Linked DNA regions of Homo sapiens: region 2 is linked to region 1. Evidence: promoter capture Hi-C in 16 types of primary human blood cells and fetal thymus (Javierre and others, 2016). All regions are on one chromosome and are shown on one strand. The core of a region is centred on a gene start or on the middle of the fragment in contact, and the rest is flanking DNA. Distances in the headings are between cores, read along the strand shown.

What was found. Contacts are between HindIII fragments. The CHiCAGO score rates a contact against its expected background, and 5 or more counts as called.
Region 2: a contact is called between a fragment that was not itself captured here and the fragment with the promoter of COL9A2 in region 1, in 8 of 17 cell types (endothelial precursors, naive B cells, M1 macrophages and 5 more). The highest score is 8.2, in endothelial precursors.

Annotation. Positions count from the first base shown.
Region 1 is chr1:40,315,043-40,320,318 of GRCh38, reverse strand. COL9A2 (collagen type IX alpha 2 chain) reads left to right here and starts at 3,033. Exons shown (of 32, transcript NM_001852.4): 1 at 3,033-3,196; 2 at 4,655-4,729. The coding sequence starts at 3,122. RefSeq lists enhancers at 2,902-3,538, 3,539-4,175, 4,959-5,218 and silencers at 3,349-3,858, 4,619-4,718, 4,729-4,788. The HindIII fragment of the contact is 22,313 bases long and covers 1-5,276 here.
Region 2 is chr1:40,279,965-40,285,240 of GRCh38, reverse strand. It overlaps ZMPSTE24 (zinc metallopeptidase STE24), which reads right to left. Exons shown (of 10, transcript NM_005857.5): 7 at 3,714-3,898. Among named protein-coding and RNA genes, the nearest start is that of ZMPSTE24, 24 kb to the right of the region's middle. The HindIII fragment of the contact is 308 bases long and covers 2,746-3,053 here.

The DNA of each region.
Region 1 (5,276 bases), core at 1,784-4,283:
GCCGAGATCACACCACTGCACTCCAGCCTGGGCAACAGAGCAAGACTCTGTCTCAAAGTAAAATAAAATAAAATAAAAAATTAGCTGGGTGCAGCGGTGCATGCCTGTAGTCCCAGCTACTCAGGAGGCTGAAGTGGGAGGATCAGGAGCCCAGGAACTTGAGGCTACAGTGAGTGGTGATTCCTCCATTGCACTTCAGCCTAGGTGACAGAGGGAGACCTTGTCTCAAAAGTAAGAAAGAAAGAAAGACATAAATAAATAAATTTTATCCCTTATTCTCTTCTTAAAATGTGACACTGGCTGGGCGCGGTGGCTCATGCCTGTAATCCCAGCACTTTGGGAAGACAAAGCGGGCAGATCACGAGGCGGGCGGATCATGAGGTCAGGAGTTCGAGACCAGCCTGACCAACATGATGAAACCTCATCTCTACTAAAAAGACAAAAATTAGCCGGGAGTGGTGGCGTACGCCTGTAATCCCAGCTACTCCAGAGGTTGGGGCAGGAGAATCGTTTGAATCCAGGAGGCGGAGGTTGCAGTGAGCTGAGATTGCGCCACTGCACTCCAGCCTGGGTGACAGGGCAAGACTCCATCTCAAAAAAAAAATTAAAAAATGTGACATTAACATTCATCCTTGAGGTGGGGTCTCTGTTCCCTCCCCTTGATCATGGGCAGACCTTTGCAATTGCCTCAACAGTAAGAATGTGGTGAAGGTGCCACTGCATGACTTCCAAGGACGGGTCCTGAGTGGCAATTCTCTTCAGTCTGGTGCTCTCCTACTCCCTCTGAGCTGCTATAGAGGATGTTCAGCTACCTTGAAGCTGCCATGTTGGAGAAACTTCATGGAAAGCCCACAAAGAGATAAAGGAGAGAACTGTCCAAGCAACTCCAGCTGTTCCGGCCCCAGCGGTTGAAGGCTTCCCAGTACTGACATCAGACATGTGAGTGAAGAAGCCTTCTAGGTGACATCAGGCCCAGCCACCATCTGACTATGACCTTATAACAGACCCCAGGCCAGACCGAACCAGCAGAGTCACTCTCAAATTCCTAATCCAAAGAAATTGTCATTTTAAGCTGCTGAATGTTAGGGTGATTTGTTATGGTGCAACAGGTAATTAATACATCAATGTGTGCTGTCCAGACTGTGAAACTCATCCTCTTTCCATAATTTCCACACACAAAAAGAAAACTTACTCACACAAGGCCTTTCTTGTGGTTAGCCCACAAAAGATGGAGAGATAAGTGATGTGAAACAAACAACTTAAAATTGAATTTGGACATCCCAGTTCTAAAAATCCTTTATAGGTTTACCCCACCCACCCCAAGCAATGCCCACCATCCCTCTCTTACATCCTCCTCCTCTTGCTCTCATCTTCCAACAAACTTCAAATTCTTCTTCACTCTGTTAGGCAGAGCAATTACATTCTCTCAAGCTCTTTCTCCCAAACTCAGCTCCAGGACAACCTTTCAAAATCCAGAGCCCTTTGCTAACCTGCCCAATGGAGTTGGACTTTTCTAGCTTCAACTAGGTTCATCATTTTAGCTGATCTGCCTGTGGCCAGCTTCCCCACATTGGATGCCAACCTAGTAAAACAGTCATCCATAAATCATAAGGAAAGCTAAAATGTATCAAGCACCTACTATGTGCTGGTTCGAGGTTAAATGCCTCGCATGAGTCATCTCATTCAATTTCCACAAAAACCCTTTAAGATAAGGACAATTTGCTGGGCACGGTGGCTCATGCCTGTAATCCCAACACTTTGGGAGGCTGAGGCAGGCAGATCACCTGAAGTCAGGAGTTCAAGAGCAGTCTGGCCAACATGGCGAAACCCCATCTCTACTAAAAATATAAAAATTAGCCAGGCATTGTGGCTCATGCCTGTAATTCCAGCTACTCGAGAGGCTGAGGCAGGGGAATCATTTGAACCCGCGAGGCGAGGTTGCAGTTAGCTGACATCGTGCCACTGCACTCCAGAGCCTTTTAAGACTCTGTCTTAAAAAAAAAATATATATATATATATATATGGACTATTAGTATCCCCATTTTACAGATGAGGAAAATGAGACTTCATAGAGTTTGGGGTGCCTGTGGTCATATCTATAATTGTGAAAAAGTCAGATTCCAAAGCATTTTACCAATATTGCCTAAGTGAGTGGGAGGGAAGGGAAGGCTCTCTGGAGTCGGGCTATGCTGGACAGCGGGGTTCGGAAACTCTGGTGAATAAAGTGGTAGTTGTTTCTATGAACATGGAGTGAGAAGGCCCAATCCTAAACACACCAGTGCTTAAGGCAGCTGCAGAGAATTAAAGGCAATAGAAAAAGGGGAGCTGGATGGCAGGAGCTTGGATGGGGAAGACTTCAAGGGCAGGTGAAGATGCCAACAGCTTCCTGCCTGGAGGACCGAAGAAGGGTTGGGCTTCACTGCAGACCTCCAGGAGACAGATTTGCTTGTTGGGACAGAGTAGGGAGGTGAAAGCGAGGTGAGGAAGTTCGGGGGTGGGGGAGGTGCACACAGCTCCACTAAAGAGCTGGAAGAGGCCGATGGAGTATTCATGAGACGGCTGATCCAGGAAGGACTGTGGCATATTAATATGGAAAAGGCCTGTTTGTTTGTGCTTGGAGAGGAAGGAGCCAGAGGAGAGGGGAGCAAGGTGGGCGGGAGCTGGGGAGAGCCTGCAGCAAGATCTGCAGAGCCCGAGGTGCTCTCGGCCTGGGCCCTGGAGAGGACGTAGGGTAAGTGATGGGGCACAGGCTGTGCGTCAGGGGGAAGGTGCTGGGGCCTGAAGGTCCCGAGGGGAACCTCAGACGGCCTTATGCCTTCTCACAAAGAAACTGGACCATCATCTCCGACCCGCACCCCGGTCGCCCCTCGAGGACAGAGGGTGGGCGCAGGAGGCTGGACCGAGCGGGGCGGAGCTGGATGCCTGGCGCCGGCCTCCCTCCCGGCAACCCCGCCGGTCCTCTCAGGTGACAGCTCACGCCGGCCCCCGCCCCGCCCCCCGCATATTCAGGAGCCCCAGCCCACCCTGCCCGCGAACAGCCAGCGCTGGAGGAGCGCCGGGAGACTCTGCCGTCGGTGCGTGCGCGGACACGCACCCGTCCCCCTTGGTCTCGCCGCCAGCCATGGCCGCCGCTACGGCCTCCCCCCGCAGCCTCCTTGTTCTCCTCCAGGTGGTAGTGCTCGCTCTGGCGCAGATTGTAAGTTTCGCAGCCCCTCCGCTGCCAGGGTCCAGGGTGCGGGGTCTGGAGTCCGGGATGGAGGAGCTCTGCCTGTGTCCCGCGCCTACTGACACCCCTAGCCCGAGAGGCCACCTGAGGACAGCGCCGCGGGCAGGTCCCCTCGGTGGGTGCATACATGGTGCCCATCGCGGCACCGTGAATGGAGGTGGCTGAGCCGGAGAGTCAAACGGGACCCGTCCCCAGACGCGCGGCCCGGCCCGGGACAGGCAGCGTGGGGCAGGAGCTGGCGCCCGGTCCTGGCAGCCCGGGGAGCCCAGGTGGCGGGGCATACAATGGTGCTCATTCACCCGCTGCGCAGCCTCCGCCCCCGCCGCCTCCCAGGGGGCGCCGGCTCCAACCAGACGCCGCTGTCGCCCCGAGGCGGCCTCTCGGCCCTGCCCGCCTACCCACGTCTCCCTTCCGAGGGCCGCCGGGGGCTGCGGGCGCGCGGGTAGGGCAGAGACTGGGCCCGGTCGGGTGCTGGGTGTGGTTTCGAGCTCGCCTGCGGGGCGCCAGCCTGGCACTTCGCGGCCTGGGGAGGTCGTGGGCACCGGGACCCCTGCCTGGGTCCGAGCTGGCCTCTTAAAAGGGCCGCCTTTTAAGATCTCTGATCTGTTCAGAGATGGGCAGCAGGATGGAGACTCTCCAGCTGTGAGCTCGCCTCATCTTGATATGACTTGTGACCTCCCTGAAACCTCACACCCACCCAGGGGCATTGAATTGCAGGCAAACGGGATCCAGAGAGAGGGTCTGCTTTCTGGGAGGTGCCGGCTCCTCCTGCTCCCCTGCAGCAGTCAGGGCTTAGCAGAGGGAGGACCGGGCAGCTGTGCTGCCGAAGGGGCGCTCCGAGTGGGAAGATAGTACCCGCTTCACCTCCCTACACCTCCTTTCTCTGCGCCTCCCCCACTTTCCCGTCGGGTTTTCCCGCACCATGGGGAGAGGAGGAGGCGCTGTCTCTGCCTGTCGTTCACGTAAGAACAACAACCCGAGCCACCGCTCACTGAGGGCCGGCAGCCTGCTAGGCACAACCTTACATTCCATCTGTGATTTATTTGAGCTGTCCACGTCTCCATCTATTCCCCACCGCGACCGCGCAAGGGCAAACTGGCACAGTGGAAGGAGTCGGGCAGATCCAGGGCGGACTCCTGGCGCCGCCGCCCACTCTCAGTGACCATGGACCCTTCACGTTCTGAGCCAGTTTCTTCGACTGCAAACTGGGGCCCGTAATAGCGCCCGCCTCCCGGTTCTGAGTATTCTGTAAGATAATGAATGCATGTAATGGCACACAGTGCCTGCTATACAGAAGATTCTCAATACGTGGGAGTTCGCGGAAGAGCTGCGCCCCTAGGACCCCGCTCCCAGGGTCGCTTGCAGCCCCGGGGACGCCCAGCTTCCTGCACTGTCTGAGGACTGCCCCACCCCGTGTGTGTTTTTCAGAGAGGTCCACCGGGAGAGCGGGGCCCCCCGGGTCCCCCGGGACCGCCGGGAGTGCCTGGATCCGACGGCATCGACGTAAGTCTCTAACCTGAGACCAGGGCGGGAGGGAGGCGGCAGACAAAGGAGAACTTTGTGAGCGCTGTGGTGGGGGTGGGGACTTCGGGGTGCCCGGAGATGTAGTGCCCCTCGTCGCCAATAGGCGGCGCCGGCCCGCACCACAAGGACGCCGTTTGTTCTGCAAAAACCTCAAACCAGCCCTGACATGCGGAGCCCGTTATAGCCGCCGACAGACAAGGAGCTGCTGTTCAGTCCGCCGGCCGCAGCTCACAGCGAGGCCTCATCCCCCTCCTCTCCTTTCCCCTCCTTGTGGGGTAGGAGGCGACTCAACCCCTCACCCTGCCTCTGGCACATCTGGACGCTTCTTCAGGTTCGCTTGGGAGCCTTGGCCAGACCACCGACCAGCTTGGGCCAGACTCCTGTCTCTTCCCTTCGGTTTTCTCTCCCCGATTTAGAATCAGCTGGGCTTGTTCCCTGCAGGGTGAGGGTTAAATACCTCATTCTGAAAGCTCCCGCAGGAGGGCCGCTTGATGTTTACCAGTCTGGACAGACTTCTATTCAACCT
Region 2 (5,276 bases), core at 1,650-4,149, 35 kb after region 1:
CAGCTGCTCTGGAGGCTGAGGCAGGAGAATCAGAGGCTGCAGTGAGCTGAGATCACCAGTGAGCTGAGATCACGCCATTGCACTCCAGCCTAGGAGACAGAGCAAGACTCCATCTCAAAATAATAATAATAATAATAATAATAATAAATTAGCCAGGCATGGTGGTGCATGCCTGTAATCCCAGCTACTCAGGAGGCTGAGGCATGAGAACTGCTTGAAACTGGGAGGCGTAGTCTGTAGTGAGCCAAGATCACGCCACTGTACTCCAACCTAGGTGAAAAAGTGAGACTCCATCTCAAAAAAAAAAAAAAAAGGGATGATGTTTTGACATTGGAAAATGATTAGGTGAAGAAAGTAAGACACAAACTAAAAATATATAGTATGATTCTAATTATGAAACAATGTGAATGTGTATATAAAAATATACAAATATAAAAAGTAGACTGAAAGTATATACAAATGTTAACAGTAGTTATTATTATTTATTTTAGATGGAGTTTCACTCTTGTTGCCCAAGCTGGAGTGCAACGGCACGATCTCGGCTCACGGCAACCTCCACCTCCTGGGTTCAAGTGATTCTTGTGCTTCAGCCTCCTGAGTAGCTGGGATTACAGGCGCATGCCACCACACCCGGCTAATTTTTGTATTTTTAGTAGAGACAGGGTTTCACCATGTGAGTCAGGCTGGTCTCGAACTCCTGACTGCAGGTGATCCACCTGCCTTGGCCTCCCAAAGTGCTGGGATTACAGGCATGAGCCGCTGTGTGGGGCCTAGTCCCATTCTCTTACTAAGGAGCAAATAACCAAGGATTTACCAGATATATGAGGTAAGCTGTTAACACAGAAGATCTGATCCACAAAAAAAGCAACATGAAATAAATTATATAAAGAGAAAGTTTAGAAAATTAAGACATTGCACCTAAGAAAAAGTAACGAAATGCTGTAAATTGGAAAATTCAGATAAAAAAATTATTAGAAATCCAAGCTGAAGGCCAGGCATGGTGACTCAAGCCTGTAATGCCAGCACTCTGGGAGGCTGAGGCAGGTGGATCACGAGGTCAGGAGTTTGAGACCAGCCTGGCCAACATGGTGAAACCCCGTCTCTACTAAAGATACCAAAAAAAAAAAAAAAAAAAAAATTAGCTGGGCATGCTGGTGCACACCTGTAATCCCAGCTACTCAGGAGGCTGAGGCAGGAGAATTGCTTGAACCCGGGAGGAGGTTGCAATGAGCTGAGATCGCGCCACTGCACTCCAGCCTGGGCGAGAGGGCAAGACTACATCTCAAAAAAAAAAAAAAAAAGAAAGAAAGTTCAATACAATAAAGGATTGGAAGATGATGAGGGAATTCTAGAAAGCAGAAAGAGATATATTTAAAATGGAAAAGAGGGTTAAAAAGATAGGAGAGTTCAGTATAACAAATCCAGCACTCGAGTAAGAGGAGCCCTGAAAACACAGAATTTAAAAAATGGAGAGGAGAAAAATCAACAAAATAATTTCAGAAAATTTCTTACAACCATAGGACCTCGATTTCCAGAATAAAAGGGCCTAATGCATATATTACAGTGGATGAAAACAGTGTGATGCATATAACATGGTAGATGAAAACAGATCCCCATCAAGGTATGTGAAATTTTAGAACACTGAAACAGAGAAAGATCTAACAAACTTCCAGAAAAGCAAACAAAAACAAAAACAAAAAAAGTAACAAAAGGATCAGCAATTTTTTTTTTTTTTTAAGACAGGGTCTCACTTTGTCACCCAGGCTGGAGTGCAGAGGCAGGATCTCAGTTCACTGTAACCTCCACCTCCCAGGTTCAAGCAACTCTTGTGCCTCAGCCTCCTGAGTACTGGGATTACAGGCGTGCGCTATCATGCCCAACTAATTTTTGTATTTTTTTGTAGAGACAGGGGTTTCGTCATGTTGGCCAGGCTGGTCTCGAACTCCTGGCCTCAAGTTATCTGCCTGTCTTGGCCTTCCAAAGTGCTGGGATTACAGGTATGGGCCACAGTGCCTGACCATAAGCAGATTAACTTTCTAAACTTGCATGATTCTCTAGTGTTATCACTGGGTTATTCTTTCTGGACTTCAGTTTTCCTATTTATAAGATGACTTTAAGATGTCTTCTAATCCCTTCACAGAATTTTATTTCATCTACGTATTTATAACAGGCTAGGTACTTTACTAGAACCTGTTTTTAGTGTCAAAACAGATGCTCAGATGCTAATCATTTTCTGGTACTCTCTACATTTGGGTAGAGAGTACAAGGTATTTCACACATATTATTTCATTTAATCTTCAAAACCCTAAAATGTAGGTATCTTTAGCCTAGTATTTCTCAACCAGGGGAGACTCGGCCCCACCGCTACCTTTAGGGGACATCTGGCAATATTCTGAGACATTTTTGTTGTTACAATTTGTAGAGGTTGTAGGGGAAATGGCCCCTAGTGGGGAGAGACCAGGGATGCTGCTAAACATCCTGTGATGCACAAGATACCTCCCACAACAAAAAAATTATCTGGCTCAAAAAAATAGCGTGGGGCTTGAGAAACCCTACTGGCCTCATCTTTCAGTTAAGAAATCAAAGATTTAGAAAGCTTGGCGGGGTGCGGTGGCACACGCCTATAATCCCAGCACTTTGGGAGGCCAAGGCAGGCGGGTAACTTGAGGCCAGCAGTTCGACCAGCCTGGAAAACATAACAAGACCTCATCTCAAAATAAATAAATACATAAATAAATGAAAGCTTAACTTACTTGCACAGAGTTACACAGACAGTGAGTGAACAGGCATCTAAAATCATCTCTGTATGACACCAAAGGCAATGGCACATTCCATCACACATACAAATACTGATGATCATTTCTGACAGTTTGTATTGTTTCTTATCATTGTCCCCTCTCCCCCATTTAGTCTTGATACTTTAAATTCTGCTAATCAATATCAGTCAATCTTATCCACGAAAAGGATTCAGAAGCAGCTTTCTCAGACTCTCATGTCAGATTTGAGAAATGTCTTTTCTTGTGCTCCAGTTACTATATCTAGAATCTAAAGCTTGACAGTAGCAATTCACGTATTGTACTGTGATTGCATGACTATTTCCCCTTTAGACTGTAAGCTTAAGAGGAAGGTATTCCTTTTTATTTTTGTGTACCTAGTGCCAAGTAAAGTCTCTCAGCACAGAGTATACATTTCATAAATGGGTGTTAAACAAATAAAACAGACTAAATTACACAACGTATCCAAGGATACAAAGCTACTAAATGACAGAACCAGGATTCAAATCCAAGTCTCTCCATTGCCAAAGCCTACAATTACTGTCTTAATAAAGCTAAAAATTAGATGTTTATCTTCTCTTTATCTTGCTTGTGGGAATTCTTTGATCATAAACACATAAGAAATTATATATATATATACACACACATATATATATATACACACAAGTTCCTGTTTTAAAGATAGCTTATAATCATATGAATTTTCTTATAAGAGCTTCCAATTTTAATATCCACATTCTATAAAAGCTTGCAAGGTAGTTAGCATGTAATAATAGTGGTGATCTCTCCTAAATACCAGAACTATAAAGGAGCCATGGTTTTCATCTGATAGTCTCCCTGAATTCAACACTCACTGCCTAGAAATTGATGTTATTTTGAGTTGTCACAGGAACTGTGTATAAAAACTAAGGTAGAATCTCTTAGGAAAAAATAACTCACTTTAACTTTAGCTTTTATTTCTTCACTGTTCCCTTCTTCCTCATTGCGGGGTTCCATGCCAGAATCCTCCTGGATGTCTTTGTTTAGTACAGAGTACTCTTCTAGTAGAGTGTCAAACAAAACTATTCGCTTGTTCTTGAAGAAGCCATAAAAATAAGCATTGCTGTGGGAAGAGCGTTTAGATCCTAAGGAAAAGACAGTTCAAAGCATGGAATATAATTAAAAAGTTTGGGGTCCTTTGGAGAGACTCCTAGAAATTGAATTACTGGAAAGGACATTAACATTTTCAAATCATTTAATATGTGAAGAAAAATCATATCAACATAATTCACCACCAGCAGTGGAGAGTGTCTGTTTTTTGCCAATAAATGTGCTCATCACAGCTTTATAGCAGTAAGTAAATAAGTAAAGCCTAAACATCCAACAGTTACAAATGATTCAATTATAGTAAAACTATGAAATGGAATTTTAAGCTGCCAGAAAAAAATTATACTTCCAAAGAATTTTAACAAGAAAAAGCTCACCAATATATTGTGAAGGATACAAAACTTCACGTATATCAGGTTCCATTATCGTCAAGAAAAAATGTGCATGTATTAGGTTGGTGCAAAAGTAATTGCGGTTTTTGCATTGTTGAAATTTGCTGTTTGATATTGGAATACATTCTTAAATAAATATGGTTATGTTATACATCATTTTAATGCACATTTCTCACTTTATGTTTTTTGCTAATGACATTACTTGCTGTTTATTTTATATTTATTTTAGATAAGGGAAATTATATTAGACAAAAAGCAAATTCAACTGGGTGCAGTGGCTCATGCCTGTAATCCCAGCACTTTGGGAGGCTGAGGCAGGCGGATCACTTGAAGTCAGGAGTTCGTGACCAGCCTGGCCAACATGGTGAAACCCTGTCTCTACCAAAAATACAAAAAATTAGCCGGGCATGGTGGCGCACACCTGTCATCCCAGCTACACGTGGGGCTGAGGCATGAGAACTGCTTGAACCCAGGAGACGGAGGTTGCAGTGAGCAGAGATGTCGCCACTGCACTCCAGCCTAGGCAACAGACGGAGACTCTGTCTCACAAAGAAAGAAAAAAAAAAAAGCAAATTCAAGCAATTTTCTTCTTTGAGTTCAAAATGGGTCGTAAAGCAGCAGAGACAACTCGCAACATCAACAACGCATTTGGCCCAGGAACTGCTAACGAACGTACAGCGCAGTGGTGGTTCAAGAAGTTTGCAAAGGAGATGAGAGCCTTGAAGATGAGGAGCGTAGTGGCAGGCCATCGGAAGTTGACAATGACCAATGGAGAGCAATCATCGGAGCTGATCCCCTTACAACTACACAAGAAGTTGCCGAAGAACTCAATGTCGACCATTCTACGGTCGTTTGGCATTTGAAGCAAACTGGAAAGGTGAAAAAGCCTGATAAGTGGGTGCTTCATGAGCTAAGCGAAAATAAAAATTAAAAAAAATCATTGTTTTGAAGTGTCGTCTTCTCTTATTTTACACAACAAACCATTTCTCTATCAGACTGTGACGTGAGACGAAACATGGATTTT